Linked DNA regions of Homo sapiens: all the other regions are linked to region 3. Evidence: promoter capture Hi-C in human tissues and cell types (Jung and others, 2019). All regions are on one chromosome and are shown on one strand. The core of a region is centred on a gene start or on the middle of the fragment in contact, and the rest is flanking DNA. Distances in the headings are between cores, read along the strand shown.

What was found. Contacts are between HindIII fragments. The study calls those that stand out against the background at their distance.
Region 1: a fragment that was not itself captured here is called in contact with the fragment with the promoter of FBN1 in region 3 in 5 of the 25 tissues and cell types used here (bladder, hippocampus, lymphoblastoid cells and 2 more).
Region 2: a fragment that was not itself captured here is called in contact with the fragment with the promoter of FBN1 in region 3 in 1 of the 25 tissues and cell types used here (IMR-90 fibroblasts).
Region 4: a fragment that was not itself captured here is called in contact with the fragment with the promoter of FBN1 in region 3 in 3 of the 25 tissues and cell types used here (IMR-90 fibroblasts, mesenchymal stem cells and mesendoderm cells).
Region 5: a contact is called between a fragment that was not itself captured here and the fragment with the promoter of FBN1 in region 3, in 2 of the 25 tissues and cell types used here (hippocampus and liver).

What each region holds. Positions count from the first base shown.
Region 1 is chr15:48,488,791-48,491,735 of GRCh38, reverse strand. FBN1 (fibrillin 1) reads left to right here. Exons shown (of 66, transcript NM_000138.5): 25 at 1,658-1,885. Among named protein-coding and RNA genes, the nearest start is that of FBN1, 160 kb to the left of the region's middle. The HindIII fragment of the contact is 8,940 bases long and covers 1-2,945 here.
Region 2 is chr15:48,879,429-48,882,200 of GRCh38, reverse strand. All of the region lies in intron 4 of SHC4 (SHC adaptor protein 4), which reads left to right. It overlaps EID1 (EP300 interacting inhibitor of differentiation 1), which reads right to left. Exons shown (of 1, transcript NM_014335.3): 1 at 2,028-2,772. Among named protein-coding and RNA genes, the nearest start is that of EID1, 2.7 kb to the right of the region's middle. The HindIII fragment of the contact is 4,319 bases long and covers 1-2,772 here.
Region 3 is chr15:48,644,209-48,647,377 of GRCh38, reverse strand. FBN1 (fibrillin 1) reads left to right here and starts at 1,669. Exons shown (of 66, transcript NM_000138.5): 1 at 1,669-1,803; 2 at 2,428-2,772. The coding sequence starts at 2,609. FBN1-DT (FBN1 divergent transcript) reads right to left here and starts at 1,573. Exons shown (of 2, transcript NR_183872.1): 1 at 548-1,573. RefSeq lists enhancers at 1,505-1,594, 1,107-1,631 and silencers at 1,705-1,784, 1,825-2,004, 2,415-2,544, 2,645-2,694. The HindIII fragment of the contact is 10,434 bases long and covers 1-3,169 here.
Region 4 is chr15:48,823,509-48,826,349 of GRCh38, reverse strand. SHC4 (SHC adaptor protein 4) reads left to right here. Exons shown (of 12, transcript NM_203349.4): 12 at 224-2,609. The coding sequence ends at 379. Among named protein-coding and RNA genes, the nearest start is that of CEP152, 14 kb to the right of the region's middle. The HindIII fragment of the contact is 4,959 bases long and covers 1-2,841 here.
Region 5 is chr15:48,775,188-48,778,207 of GRCh38, reverse strand. The region is part of intron 12 of CEP152 (centrosomal protein 152); the gene reads left to right. Among named protein-coding and RNA genes, the nearest start is that of CEP152, 34 kb to the left of the region's middle. The HindIII fragment of the contact is 3,954 bases long and covers 1-3,020 here.

The DNA of each region.
Region 1 (2,945 bases), core at 358-2,857, 160 kb after region 3:
GATGCTTACCTGTACTTTGCATCTGAAACCACATTACTTTGAAGTGTAGGCTCAGTGAAGACTATTGTAGGTAGTTAAAAAAGTGGGCCGGGTGCGATGGCTCACGCCTGTAATCCCAGCACTTCGGGAGGCCGAGGCAGGTGGATCACGAGGTCAGGAGATCGAGACCATCTTTGCTAACATGGTGAAACCCCGTTTCTACTAAAAATACAAAAAAAGTAGCCAGGCACGGTGGCGGGCACCTGTAATCCCAGCTACTCGGGAGGCTGAGGCAGGAGAATGGCATGAACCCGGGAGTTGGAGCTTGCAGTGAGCCGAGATAGTGCCACTGCAGTCCGGCCTAGGCAAAAGAGTGAGACTCCGTCTCTAAAAAAAAAAAAAGAAAAGAAAAAGAAAAAGAAAGTGGTATACAGTGAAGGATTTTGATCACTTACGAATTAGAATTAACAAACCTTTAAATATTGAACTTTATAGTTTATAGTGTAAATAAATAATATGGAATGGAACCGGGAATTCAAAGCCAAAAGTATTTTTGTAATTAAGGATGTCAGTTAATGCTATTCTGAGTCTTAGTTTATTTGTTTAGGAAGAATCAGTATTTAATGAGAATCTTCTTCTAGGTTCTTCAGTTGAAAGATGCTTCAGTGTTTAATTTAGGATTCACTTAAAAATAATTTATCTTAATATGGGCAGTCTGAATATAAAGCTGAATATAAAGACTTCAAAAACTTTCTAACGTTAGAGGAAACCCAGGGAGTTAGATATATTGTTAATGACCCCATTGTGAAGGAGAAAGAGAAGGAAGATACATCTTACATTTCAATTACACTTCATTATTTTCAGATGCATAATCTCAGTTGAGCTTCACAGAACCTTCTGAGAGATGAGTGCAACATCCTGTAACAGATGTGGAAATTCAGGTTTAGGATAATTTATTGAAGACAATCCACTGAGTTACAGAAGAGGACCAAAATCCAGCTCTTCTGACCTCTGCTCTGCTAGGCTTTCTGCTCTTCTTTATAATCCCATGAATTTGGGTTTGGGGCTAGAGGTATCCCACAAGTACCTTGAAGAATGTGCCCTTAAGCACGTGTTTAGGTGAAAGAAATATTTGAGAAGTAAAGTGAATGGCTTTTCTTTGCATTTTTCTCTTTAATCTCAAGTAAAGCAGTCCTCTTTCCAGAGTTCATCATTCCACCTTTCCAAAAATGAAGTGGGTCGGAGGAAAAGGTGATTGCACTAGGGCAGACACGCTCCAACAATAAAGAGTACAGTTGGCTTTTAGCTGTGGAGGACATGCCAAGACATCATGGCATGCACGCATCGGTGATAGGTATTTCTGTACAGGAGAAAAACATCTCCCGAAAGAACACTGTGGGATCTCTCAGAATACCATTCCTTATGTAGAATTATCAGATGTTGAAAGGGAACTTTTCAGAAGTAGGAGGTGCAAACATGGGCTGACAAAGAGAGTCTTTATTAGGCAAGGATACTTACCCCAGAGCCTGGGGTTTTTTTTGAGGAATAAAACTAATTCCAGTCAATAAGTATACAGCAAATTATTATGTGTGCAGTATTTTACCTAACAGAGTGTTGGCAGTTTGGGGCAGTGGAAGCCGTGTGGCTCTATTTAACCTCCCTTGATTCCCTCTGACAGATATCCGCCTGGAAACCTGCTTCCTGAGGTACGAGGACGAGGAGTGCACCCTGCCTATTGCTGGCCGCCACCGCATGGACGCCTGCTGCTGCTCCGTCGGGGCAGCCTGGGGTACTGAGGAATGCGAGGAGTGTCCCATGAGAAATACTCCTGAGTACGAGGAGCTGTGTCCGAGAGGACCCGGATTTGCCACAAAAGAAATTACAAATGGAAAGCCTTTCTTCAAAGGTACAATGTTACGTTTTCCATGGCCAATTGCCTCCCTTTTTAGACAAATAGGATGCATTTTCATGATCTCAGCACTCTACTTGATCATCCCAGCATGGACTTTTTGCTTTCTGAATTATATAATTATCTTTGTTTAGAAAAGTATGAACTTTTTGTTTTTAACTGTTTGGTCCAAGAAGTCCTGGGGGTTAAAATTGTTCTGTATGGAGAGATAGTTTCAGATAGTTTCTAGGTGGCCCTCTTAAATGTCAGTTACGTAAACTCAAAGGAACTTTAATTTTGCTTCCAAAAGCTATGGTAATTCATTGCTGAAGAAGGACTTGGTGTTCTGGAGATTTAATCTCCCAGTTCTGTCTTACATGTAGAAATTACTTGCGTATTTCTTGAGTGTTTGGTCTTGTTTTGGAAAAAGGCCCTGTAGTGGGAAACTCAGGTCACATGTTACATGTATGCAGTTTTCTAGTGTACAAGAAGCTCTTTAAATTATATTAATGAGATCTTGAGCTGGATGCGGTGGCTCATGCCTATAATCCCAGCACTTTGAGAGGCCAAGGTGGGCAGATTACTTGAGTCCAGGAGTTCAAGACCAGCCTGGGCAACATGGTGAAACCCTGTGTCTACAAAAAAAAAAAAAAAAAAAAAAAAAAAAATATCTAGGCATGGTGGTGCACACCTGTAATCCCAGCTACTCAGATGGCTGAGGCACAAGAATTGCTTGAATCTGGGAGGCAGAGGTTGCAGTGAGCCAAGCACACCACTGTACTCCAGCCTTGATGACAGAGCAGATCCTGTCTCAAAAAAAGAAAGAAAGACATCTTAAGGTATATACATTAAGAAAATATTTTTAAATTGTACAAATTATTTGCAAATAATTTAAATTATAAATTATATCTTTGAAATTTTTATATTTTTGGCATATCCAAAAAAGCACCAAACAGTATTAAGTGAATATCTCATTCTGCTACACAGTCAATTGATAGCTGTAGGATAATATATTCTAATAATGTTCTATGTGCTTTAAATATAGATACTAGTGGTTTAGAATATATTATCTATTCAC
Region 2 (2,772 bases), core at 123-2,622, 240 kb before region 3:
TTATTTCCCATGAGAAAGGCAACTAAAATGTTTAAGAAATGAAGGCAGCAAAGATGAGAGACCTTGTGGATACAGCACAAGAAAAGGATTAATTAAATCCTTAATGCTACCACTGGAAGTTCTAAAATAAATACAAAGAAATACTAATGCCTTCCCCATCCCCACTTAATTTCTAAGATATGCTTTGGACTGAAAACAAAGGTTCAAATTTATGGATATATTCATAGATGATAGCATTTATGGAACGGATAGTTCACATTTATCTTTGGCCACTGAGAACATCAAGAATATAACAATTCATTCCCAGAAAATATTTTACAAACCTCCAGAGGCAGAAAATATTAAACATGCGATGCTTGCAATTTTTAAATATTACCATATTTCAGGATGGGAATACATTTTTGCAAGGGTAAGTTATAGGTATTTCCTTGTTTTAAAATTCAAGCAACAGACTTTATTGACATACTTTAATATAGTATTTTAGGGCCTCAAGCAAAGTCAGAGTCTCAGTTGCTCACACTCCCACTAATTCTTTACTGATTTCTACAACTCTAACAGGTACTGAATTCAGAAGGGTAATAGAGTTAAGGTAAAACAGGCAAAAATTGAGACATCCTTTAGTCTCTACAAGGAGAGGCAACTTGAGATATTTAGAGGCCAAGTAGGTAATGCAAGCTGTGCAAGCACAAGAAAAAACAATGGTGCAGGCCCAATGATAAATGTCAAGTGCTACCTGGCCTCTGTGTTGGGGAGACAACACTGAGGGACTTGGCAAACAGAATCTTCCTTATCTAAAGGTGAATCAGATGGTTTTTTTTTTTTTTTGCTTTGTTTTTTTGTTTGTTTGTTGGCTACATAGGTCTATAGGTCAAAGGCTCCCAGATCTTTTACTTTAAAAAAATAATAATAAAAAGGTAAGAATCTAGATTTTTAGCTGCTGTCTCTGTACTGAGATGTTGGTCTCTTAAAATTATAAGCATGAACCAAACAAAATAGATCTGTGGCCTGAAGACAGTCAACATGGGATATCTGATCTAAGCGAACATTTATAATATGTATGGATAAATTTGGAAAACTCTCCCTAATCACACCGTGTACTCAAAATCTTCTTTAAATCCCCTACCTTGCAAAATCAGAATTTCCCCAGAACTCCTTTCTCTAGCTTCCTTAAATGAAGACACACACACACACACACACACACACACACACACACACTCTCACACACATCATCATTTAGTCCTCACAATTTGTAAGGTACATCCAATTGTTCCTATTTTCAGTTTAGGACATGAGCCAGAGAGATTAATTTCCCAGTTACTGAGCTAATAAATAGTAGAACCCAAATTTTAACCAAGTAGTCTGGTTTGTCTGTGGCAACTGCATGTAAAAGAAACACAAATAATTTTACACCCCTAAAAGGGGTGTTAAAATGTTTTCTATCCTCAATAAATACAAGTAAGTATTTACAATTTTCATTGTCTCTCAGCTTACTGCCTATTTTTAAGACTGAAAAACAACCAAGTCAATTGCAGAGCCCAGGTTTTTCTCCCCAAGATGGGCCTTCAGATGGAATAGTGTTTCCCACCCCCACCTCTTTGCCCTACTCAGTCCCAGAGAAAAACAGAATCACAACCTTCTAGTTTGTGGACCTCAGATTTTTTTTTCCAAGAGTTTATCTTTCCTAGTAAAGATAAACTTTCCTGGTAAAGATAAAGATCTGGAGGTAAATACAACCAGCCAGTTTATTGTGCACTAGCATACCCCCACCCACACTAATTTACATCATCCATGCAATTAATTACCTATCCACACTCATCTGACCGTAGCTGCACGCTAATTGAGAAAGCAGTGGAAGAGGCAGTAGGATTAAGTCTAAGCACCAACATTTTACTTCCACCATCTCTCCCTCCTAACCCAGCTAGTGTCTGAGCAATTCTGATCAGCCTTGTCACAGTCCTATCTTTTACAGATCTCTCTCCCCAAAAGACAGGATGACCATAAAATAAATAAGGCTCTGAATTGTCCTGTTGCATTGGATATTCGTTCTTTACTGCTATAATGGAGCAGAAGCATTTGGAACATTTTTACTGATCATGATAAAACCTGCTGATACACTTATTTTGCTGAACCTAGCCTTCTGATGTAATCATTACTCTCCTAGAACTTCAGCATCTTAGTAAGGTAACCACGGCAACATACTCATTGATAGGGCAGGTTTTCCCAGACCAGCAAATTCTTATAGGCAAAAACTTAATTTACAAAGTTTAATTTCCAGAAATTAATTTGTGAATTAGATAGCTGAAGCTGGATCATTTTCCCTTAATACTGGTTAACACATACAATAGAAAGTAGTATACAGAGAAAGTATGTATGCAATACTATTAGCCAAACAAAATACACAGAACAAGAAATTTTATTATCTCCAATGCTGGTGCATGACAAATAACAAGCTTAATTAGAGGAGGAGACAGAGGGAAACTTCAGATACCAAGGTAATTTCTGGGCAGGTTTAAAACCTTTAAAAGTTGATAGAATAACTGTTCATAAAGTCTTTTTAGATATAGCGCTTTTTACTTGACAACTTTTATTAACAGTTCTTACAATATGAAGTTCAACTAAAGTCCTTCATCTGTCAAGTTAAAACAGCAAGCAAAACAAAATTTCTCTAGTATATAACAGCATAAGCAATGGTTTGTTTTCTTTGTACATTCACACACATTTAGTGTCTAGATTTGAAACTTTTTAATTAAGGATGTCTTAATTTTTGACTTT
Region 3 (3,169 bases), core at 420-2,919:
ATTTGTTTCAAGTCTGCCTTTCCTTGTTGACTACCTGCTGTGTGAGGGGAGACACATTTCTGCCCTTTTCACTAAATTGTTGAAGTCAGTCGTGTTCAAATTGTTGAACCTGCCTTGTTAAAATTGTTGAAGTCTAGTTCAACAATGCACTAAGTAGTACACAGTTCGTGCTCAGTAAAAACATCTTGAATGAATGATCTCCTTTACTCAGCCAGGAGTGTGTGACCAAGGCTCTCATTCATGAATCTGCTAAGAGACCTTTTGCAGGTGAGACCTTAAAGTACACCACATACATACTTACAGGACTATGGCTTTAGATCAGCTCATAGTTCCCACAGTTTTTCTGTTTCATCTTCATGTATCACAGCAGTTCAGCATGTCCATCATCACCATTACAACCCTGTGTGGTGGACACTACAAGTCCCATCTTGTATTTGGAAAGAAGTTGAATAACTTGCCCAGGTCTCTCTACCCTACTGTCTGGGCCCCTTTACAAACGGTTACAAATAAGGAAAATCCCTTTCAACAAGATACATTCCCAGGGTACCTGTTTGTGCTGAGCTTTTATTATTGGCTTGACAGCAGGCTGGTGGCTGCTTGCAGGGGATCTTCTGGGGGTCTCCAGTTACAGCAGCCAGGACCCAGTGTGCGACTTCAGGCCTTCCTAAACTGTTACAGGGTGCAGGCATCATTGGGCATTATCCATATAAGGATGCCACAAATACTATACCTTTCAAAGCCACTAAATTCACTGTGCCGCGCATATCCTGGGGAGAGGCAGCTGTGTGTGGGGGAGGGCGAGGGGACCGGGAGGGTGTAAGTAGAGTCCTCCAGATGAACCCCAGTCTTAATCTGGGCTGGGCAAGAGGACCATCCCTTCACCGCTCCCATCCTACATCCTAGGTTCCAACATTTACAGGCCCCTGGGTTGGACACCGACTTAGAGAGAGCACCCTGGATTCAGGCCTGGGTGGCTTGAATTGAGCCTCAGAAGAGCCGCGTCTGGAGTGGGCTCTCGACACCCAGGGCAAGTGGGGGCGGCAGAGCCCTCTCCTCGGTCGGCACAGCAGCCTCTGCCGCGGTCCCGGCCTGCGACGCGCCCAGTCTTAGCCTCCCGGCCTCCGGCGTCTGCTGAGTGTCCGGCGGGAGAGGCGCAGGGAGCGCGCTACCGGGAGGCGCGGGCAGCGGGGACTGGTTTTCTCTCGGGCCAGGGCCTCCGGGGCAACCGTCTCCAGCGCGCATTCTTGGTGCAGGTGGAACAGCTTTCTGCTCCGGTAGGGCTTCACCTATCGCGGGAGAGGTTAATCTCGGATCTAAACCTCGCAGCCGCAGAGCGGGCTAAAACCGCTACTCCACCTCTTCCCATTTCTCCCCTCCCCACCTCAAGACAAAAAGTCCCAGGCCGGGCAGGACCTGATCACCTCTGCCTCCTCCCACTGCGCTAATCCTGCGAGCGAGAGGCCCCGCACCGAGGCGGAGGCTGGCAAAGGGGAGTGGAAAGGGAGGATGGATGGGGCCGGGGGGTGGGGTGGTGATGAGGGCGACGAAGGAGGGGGTGTCATTTTCTTTTTCTTTCTTTTTTTAAAAAAAGTATTTCTCTCGCGAGAAACCGCTGCGCGGACGATACTTGAAGAGGTGGGGAAAGGAGGGGGCTGCGGGAGCCGCGGCAGAGACTGTGGGTGCCACAAGCGGACAGGAGCCACAGCTGGGACAGCTGCGAGCGGAGCCGAGCAGTGGCTGTAGCGGCCACGACTGGGAGCAGCCGCCGCCGCCTCCTCGGGAGTCGGAGCCGCCGCTTCTCCAGTGGGTGCAGCCGGGGTCCCGACGGGGGTCGGGCGGCCACCGGGGCTGGAGCTGCGGCCACGGAGGCTTTTGCGTTTGCGCCGCGCCGAGGGCAGGGACAGGGACTGGGGTGAGGGGCTGTCCCGGAACGTCCACAGCTGGCGCTGGCCCTCCCCTGCCTGACAGCTTCCTGGCCCGGGGCTCTTGGTGCCGGGCTCCGCGTCAGATGTTCGGGGGGCGGTGGCATCGCCCGGAGTCGGCGGGGACGGCGCGGCTGGCTTCCAGCCTGGCGGAGAGGGCAGGCTGAGGAGTGGGGCGTTCAGAGCGCGCATCGCGCGCAATTCGTGCCGCTAAAAAAAATAAACCCAGAGAGCTCGCCCGGGGCTTAGGACCGCTGGGGATATGGGTACTTTGCGCCGCGCTCTTCTGGCGGGGCCCGGGAGGCCGAGGGATCGGCCGGGGCTGCTGCCGCCGGGGGCCTGGGCTTTCCAGCCAGCTGTGGACCAAACGGTCTTCCCTTACCCAAATTAACTGCGCCACGCGCAGGCGGCGCACGGGTTGGGCTTGGGAATGGGGACCGCGAGGCTTCAGCATCCCGATGCCCTGAAAGTCTCCCCGCCTCGGGGATTTGTCTCTGTGTTGCAGCTGGCAGGGGCCGCCTGAAGTGGGAGCAGCGCCTGGAGAAGGCGGGAGGAGCCCGGCCCGGGGGACGGGCGGCGGGATAGCGGGACCCCGGCGGCGCGGTGCGCTTCAGGGCGCAGCGGCGGCCGCAGACCGAGCCCCGGGCGCGGCAAGAGGCGGCGGGAGCCGGTGGCGGCTCGGCATCATGCGTCGAGGGCGTCTGCTGGAGATCGCCCTGGGATTTACCGTGCTTTTAGCGTCCTACACGAGCCATGGGGCGGACGCCAATTTGGAGGCTGGGAACGTGAAGGAAACCAGAGCCAGTCGGGCCAAGAGAAGAGGCGGTGGAGGACACGACGCGCTTAAAGGGTAAAGGAACCGGTTCCCTCCTTTGGTGTGGGTCTCCCAAGTTTCAAGATCCAGAACAACGGGCAGGATGACTCTCCCTGTGGAAGACTCCTTGGCAAGACCTCCTGGGGGCACCTTAGAGGTGCTAGGGTTGTTTAGTCCCCACCCCGTTCGTGGTTAAACTACCTTGCCCCTACTCCCAGAGATTTCTGCCCCAAAGGAGAGGACGTGGTTAAATGGAATCTTGGGCCATTGTTGAGGCAGATTTTGGGAGGCGAGAAGAGTTCCTTGGGGAAGAAGGGGAGGAGTTGCGAGTGGGATAAGAGGAGAAGCCCGTTCCTTTCCCTGCAATATCAATTCTGGTTGTTTCTAGAGGAAAGTACTTTCCTTGGGGTCATCTTGGTAGATGCTGTATTTG
Region 4 (2,841 bases), core at 315-2,814, 180 kb before region 3:
AACCCAGGAGGTGGAGGTTGCAGTGAGTCGAGATCGTGCCACTACACTCTAACCTGGGCCACAGAGTGACACTCTGTCTCAAAAAAAAAAAAAAAAGTACCTTTTCTTTTTTCAGCAAAGTATCTACTTTAGGGATATATCTGGCATTTTCCCCCTTATTATTTATATCTTTCAGGAGAACTACTATAATTTAACCTAAATATATTTGTACTTCTTTTTCAAGGTGAGGACCAAGGATCATGTATTTGATAATGTCGGCCACCTTATCAGATACCATATGGATAACAGTTTGCCAATCATCTCCTCTGGAAGCGAAGTAAGCCTTAAACAACCAGTGAGAAAAGATAATAATCCAGCACTTTTGCATTCCAACAAATGACAGTATTGAAGCACCATCACACTGATATTTCAAGAAACCCCATTTTGTATTAGGACACAAAGATAATTTAAACTTTGTTTGTAGATAAAATAGAGCACAAACTGTGAAGTGCATCTTTCCAAGACCATCATGGACCAGGTCCTCTATAAAATGAAGAACTAACAAAAATTAGTCTTCAGAAATGAAAATCAGAAAAGAGGAAGAGGGTTGGTCATTTTAAAAGAAATTATATGTATGCACGGATGTCACTTTTTAAGGCCATATTGCATTGATAACAAGCTAAAAGCACAACTAAAATTTCACATGCTAACGACAACTTGAATGAACTGCTGGGGCAGTGGTATGTGCCTTTCAACTTGATAATTTGGGGGACATTTTCATATTGGGAGATTAATTCTAAGTATCTTCATGTTCTATGACTATAGAACCATTTGCCAAAAAAAAAAGCTTTTCTTGCTACAAAAAATAAGCAATTTTCTTGAGCCTTATTGACTTTATTACATTTTCTGTTTAGCAGCATTTTTCACTGCAATGTTAAAATAAATATGACATTGAATTCGAACTGTGTGTATGTCAGTGGAATCAAATCAAAAGCCACTAACATGGCTGTCTGTTTCATTGGACTGTCCCATTTGCTGGTTAAAAGGATTGGGGCCCAAATCCTCTGGCCTAGCATTTCTCAGTGTTTGCTATTCAGACTGTCTAAATACAGCATGTGACAAGCTGAAGAAGCCAAATCTATCAGTCATTTCTGATTTCATTATATTCTCCCCCTCTTCCTGCTAAAAAGACAAAAAACAAAAAACAAAAAAAACAAAAAAAACCTCATGAGTGCATGGATTTAAAAGAGGGCAAACAAAACCAGTATTCTTCATATTTACTATTCAAATTGGTTTCATTCTTAGTAAAAGTACAGAATCTATTTGAAATTATAGTAAAATTTCTTCTTGATTGGCTGACACTGAATCATAGTTTCTCACCTACATATATCCTTAGCACCTCGTATAGATATGATCAGACAAAATGCAGAAGGAAAAAAAAACATATTGAATGAAGCACTTGGAAAGATTTTCCACATGTAGACCAACTGGTAAACTAACAGAGTGATTAAGCATGGTGTACAGAAAAGCATTACGCTGAGTCTTACCAGTGTGACCTTCAGCAAGTTGCTGAATCTGTTTGGGTTCCAGTTTCCTTGGCAATAAAATGAGCTAAATGGGCTAGGTGAATTTGGAGGACTACTTCAGTCCTAACTTATAGTATGAGTCTCTAAAAAGCAAGTTTTTCATTTGTTAGAGGTCGTTATTGATAACCAGTCTGTATAGTTAAGGTAAAAAATTAAGCTTTTCTTCTATAGTCTGTGTCCATACTCACAGAATGAATGGCACACCTGAGATCAACATTCACATAGTTTAGACTCCAAACCATTCAGTCTAAAATACTGAAACTTTGGAATATAGGGAATGATGATAAAAGTGGATTTGGTTTGAGTAGCAGAAAACTACTTATGTCCTTTTCTTGCCTTTCCAAGAAAAATGTTTTTTGTTTTTTTTTTTAATCTTGAGTTATCTGGATATTGCCTTGACTCCATTTCATTTTGGCTATGTAGATACAACTTAGTCTTTGTGATTGTGATATATTTGCTAAGTTTTAAATAAAACTTCTTTTGGATAGAAATCATTAGAAACCAAGCATACTGCACTCTAATATTTTACTGTAAAGGCTTATGATTTTTATTTCTACTGCCATTAATTTTTTAGATGGATTTGTTTCCTCTTACACAACTAGAATTAATGTATTTTTCACCAGTTTTCCATATACCTTAGGTCTTGATCGTTTGTCCTTAAAAAGGGGATCAGCATGAGTATAGACAGTAGAAATGTATGGGTAGTCTAACCACTTTTATCAGAGACAGAGCAGGGCTGTGGTCTCACTCTAGCTGAGCAGAGTATTAACTTGGTAGCAAGAGTTCCTGATACAAATAGATGCAATGACTGTAAATGGTGTCAGCAGTACACATGGATAATCAGTATTTGACTGTAATAGTATAGTAGTTAAATACAGCACTTAAAAATACCACAGACACAGTTAAAGCAAAAGGAAACAATAAAAGGAATGTCTGCATGCTATTTTAATCTCACATTCTTTATCTGTCTTAAAGTGGAAATCCATTTGCCTATAAATACCTGTAAACGACTTTAAAAAATAAATGATTATTGCTTTGTGACAATTGACAGAATATGTCTGATGTTTGGGATTTGGAAACTGTCATTTGTAAAATGTATCAGGGAAACACATTGGCTCAATCAAACTGGATAATTCAAGGTGAGTTTATTAAAGGGACTATTTACAAAGGTGTGGGCAGAGTTTAGGGAAATCAGGAGGGAGAATGCAGTGCCTTGGGGCCAATTAAGGGAGAAAGGGAAAGAACAGCTAACAGAATCTGGAGAGGGAGCTGTGTG
Region 5 (3,020 bases), core at 10-2,509, 130 kb before region 3:
TACTGCCTAGTAAATTTTAAGGGTTTAGCCTCAATGTTCTATTTTACATTCATGGAATTTGAGTAGCTAAATCTGCATGCAGCTTGCAGACAGCTTCCTCTCTCCCTTATTATAGTTGGCTGCTAAGCTCAAATAATAAACATTTAACAAGTGGAATGCCTTTTCCCTTTGGTCTTCTCAGCAGGCTTCATAAGGGACTACAGTTTATTTGGATTTAGGAGAACTGACTTCCATGGGACTCAGTAGTGAGCCTTTTTCAGGATTGGTCACTACCACTGATTTTTTTCCCCTTTGAGGAAAGAAGAGAAAATTATTTTAGCAAGCACTTTCTCTCTCTGACTTGGCTCCCTCTAGGAGTACAGGATGTGCTATTTCAGTGGTCAGCATTCAGTAAGAAAAGAAATTGGGGATGCATAATTTGTTAACCGAGCAAAATAATCATTCTGCTTAAGGTTAGTTCACCATGTCTTATGGCACAGGAAGTTATATTGTAAAATATTTTATATTTCTTGTAATTTATATTTTCTACTTCAATGGAAATAGAAGTGGTTTAAATGAGATCTATGTATATAGACAGACTACTTACAAAATATATATATATATTACATATACAAATTTGCATTTTGTATTGCAAAAGCTCCTTTTATAACATTAAAAAGCCTACCTAATAGTTTGTTCATTTTCTCTGTCTCGCACACCCATACACACAGACACACACACACACACACACACACACACACAATATTCTAAGATTTTATTTGGAATCATCTAAAACTGAAGAACAGTAAACATTTTAACTCAGGTAGTATTTTTGTTTCTAATAAAGGTTTTTTAAAAATATATTTTTGGAACAGTTTTTAATTTACAGAAAAATTTGTATTACGCAGAGTTCCTATATACGATATGCTGCACCCATTTTTCCCTACTAATACCTTATGTTAGTATGGTACATTTGTTACAATTAATGAGCCAATATTGGTATATTATTATTAATTAACATCCAGGGTTTATTTACATGCCCTTGGTTTTTATTTAACATACTTTTTCTGTTCTGGGATCCCAACCAGGCTACCCCATTACATTTAGGGGTCATGTTTCCTTAGATTTCTCTTGACTTTACTTGTTTTTGATGACCTTGACAGTCGTAAGGAATACTGGCCAAGTATTTTGTAGGAAGCTTGTCTATTGGAATATGACGTTTTTCTTATGATTACGTTTTTCTCATGGGTTTTGTGGAGAAAGACCACAGAGACTTTCATCACCTCATCTTAAGGGCAGATACTGTCAACTGTTTATTTCTTTTCAAAAGTAACTTAATCCTCCATTATGAAAAAATTAGAAAATACAGACTAAAAAAGAAGAAAATAGAAGTCACCAATAATCTCACCTTACTTCCCATGAAGAAAACCACTTTTATATTTCAGTATAAAACTTCCACATCACCTGTTTTGTATGTTTCTAAAAGATAAAATAATATTGATAATATTTCTTTATAATGTCATTTTACTAGTATATTCTGAAATCTTTGAATATTAGTGAATATTTTTATAGATTACTTTTAGTGACTATGTAGATGAATGAACCAGTTTAGCTACTAAATCGCTGTTTAAAAGTTTTACTTATAAATAATGCAATATCATTGTTATAAGCATCCTTGTAGTCAAGTCTTTATTCACATCTTTGATTACTTCCTAAAGAAGTAGAATAATTGTCTTGCTAGAGGGTGTGCACTTATTTGAGGGCTTTGATGCATATTACTAAACAGCCCTAAAGTTTACATTATTACCCACGTCCTGAGGCTGTCCCTATTTCTTGGTAACCTAGCCAGTATTGAGAGTTATCACTTTTCCTGTTTATAATTTTTATATAGTTAGATCTGTCACTGTTTTCATTTATGGTTTCTTGATATTTAAAAATAAGGTATTTCTCTAGTACTTTCTATAGTTTTATTTTGCTTTTTAAATCTTTCAAATTATGAAATATACCATATAAAAAACATGGAACATAAATATATAGCTTAATGAATTATTTGAAAGTGAATATTCGTAGGACCACCACCCAGGTCAAGAAGTAAATATTGCCACGAGCTGCCCATATTCTTTCTTATTGTAACCTTGAGGCTAACTACTATCTTATCTATTAGGGCAATCATTTTCTGTTTTTTTTTTCCCTTAGCTTTTTAATACCCAGTTATTCACACCTAAGCACTACAGATTATTAGATTTGCCTTCATATGAAGGAAACTCATACGTTAGGTGTTTGGGTTTTCTTTTCTTTTTTTTTTTACTGTTTTATTGAGATATTATTTCACATACCATAAAAGACACCCACTTAAAGAATACAGCTCAGTGGTTTTCCGTATATTCACAGAACTGTGCAGTCATCACCACACCTAATTTTACAGCATTTCAACATCCCCCCAAAGAAACTCCATGCCTATTACCAGTCATTCCCATTACCTCTTCCTGCCTCCACAGCTCCAGACAACTAATCTACTAATCTACTTCCTGTCTCTATGGATTTGACAGCTCTGTGCATTTCATATAAATAGAATCGTATAATATGATCTTCTGTGAATTTTCTTTACCATTTCTTCTCAAGCATGTCTGCTGCTGACAGAGTCTGTTTCCTTTTATGAAAATATCCTTATATTTGTTTATTATACAATTCCTGACCAATTGTTCTTCTATTTCAGCACATTAAAGCTATGTTGGTCCACTCTCTCTGGACTCAATGGTTTCTGTGAAGAAATTCATTGTTATTTGAATTAGTGTTTCTGTCAGTAATGTATAGGTTTTTCTTTTGCTGCTTTAAGAATTTTTTTCTTTATATTTAGTTTTTGGTACTTTGATTATGATATGTTTAAGTGTGTTTTTCTTTAGTTTATCTCATTTTGGGTTCTCTGAGCTTCTTGAATATATAAATTTATTATGTCTTTTACCAAATTTGTGAAAATGTCAGCCATTAATTTCCTTAAATACCTTTTCTGTCTCTGTGTCTTTGTTCTCTCCTTTTGGGTC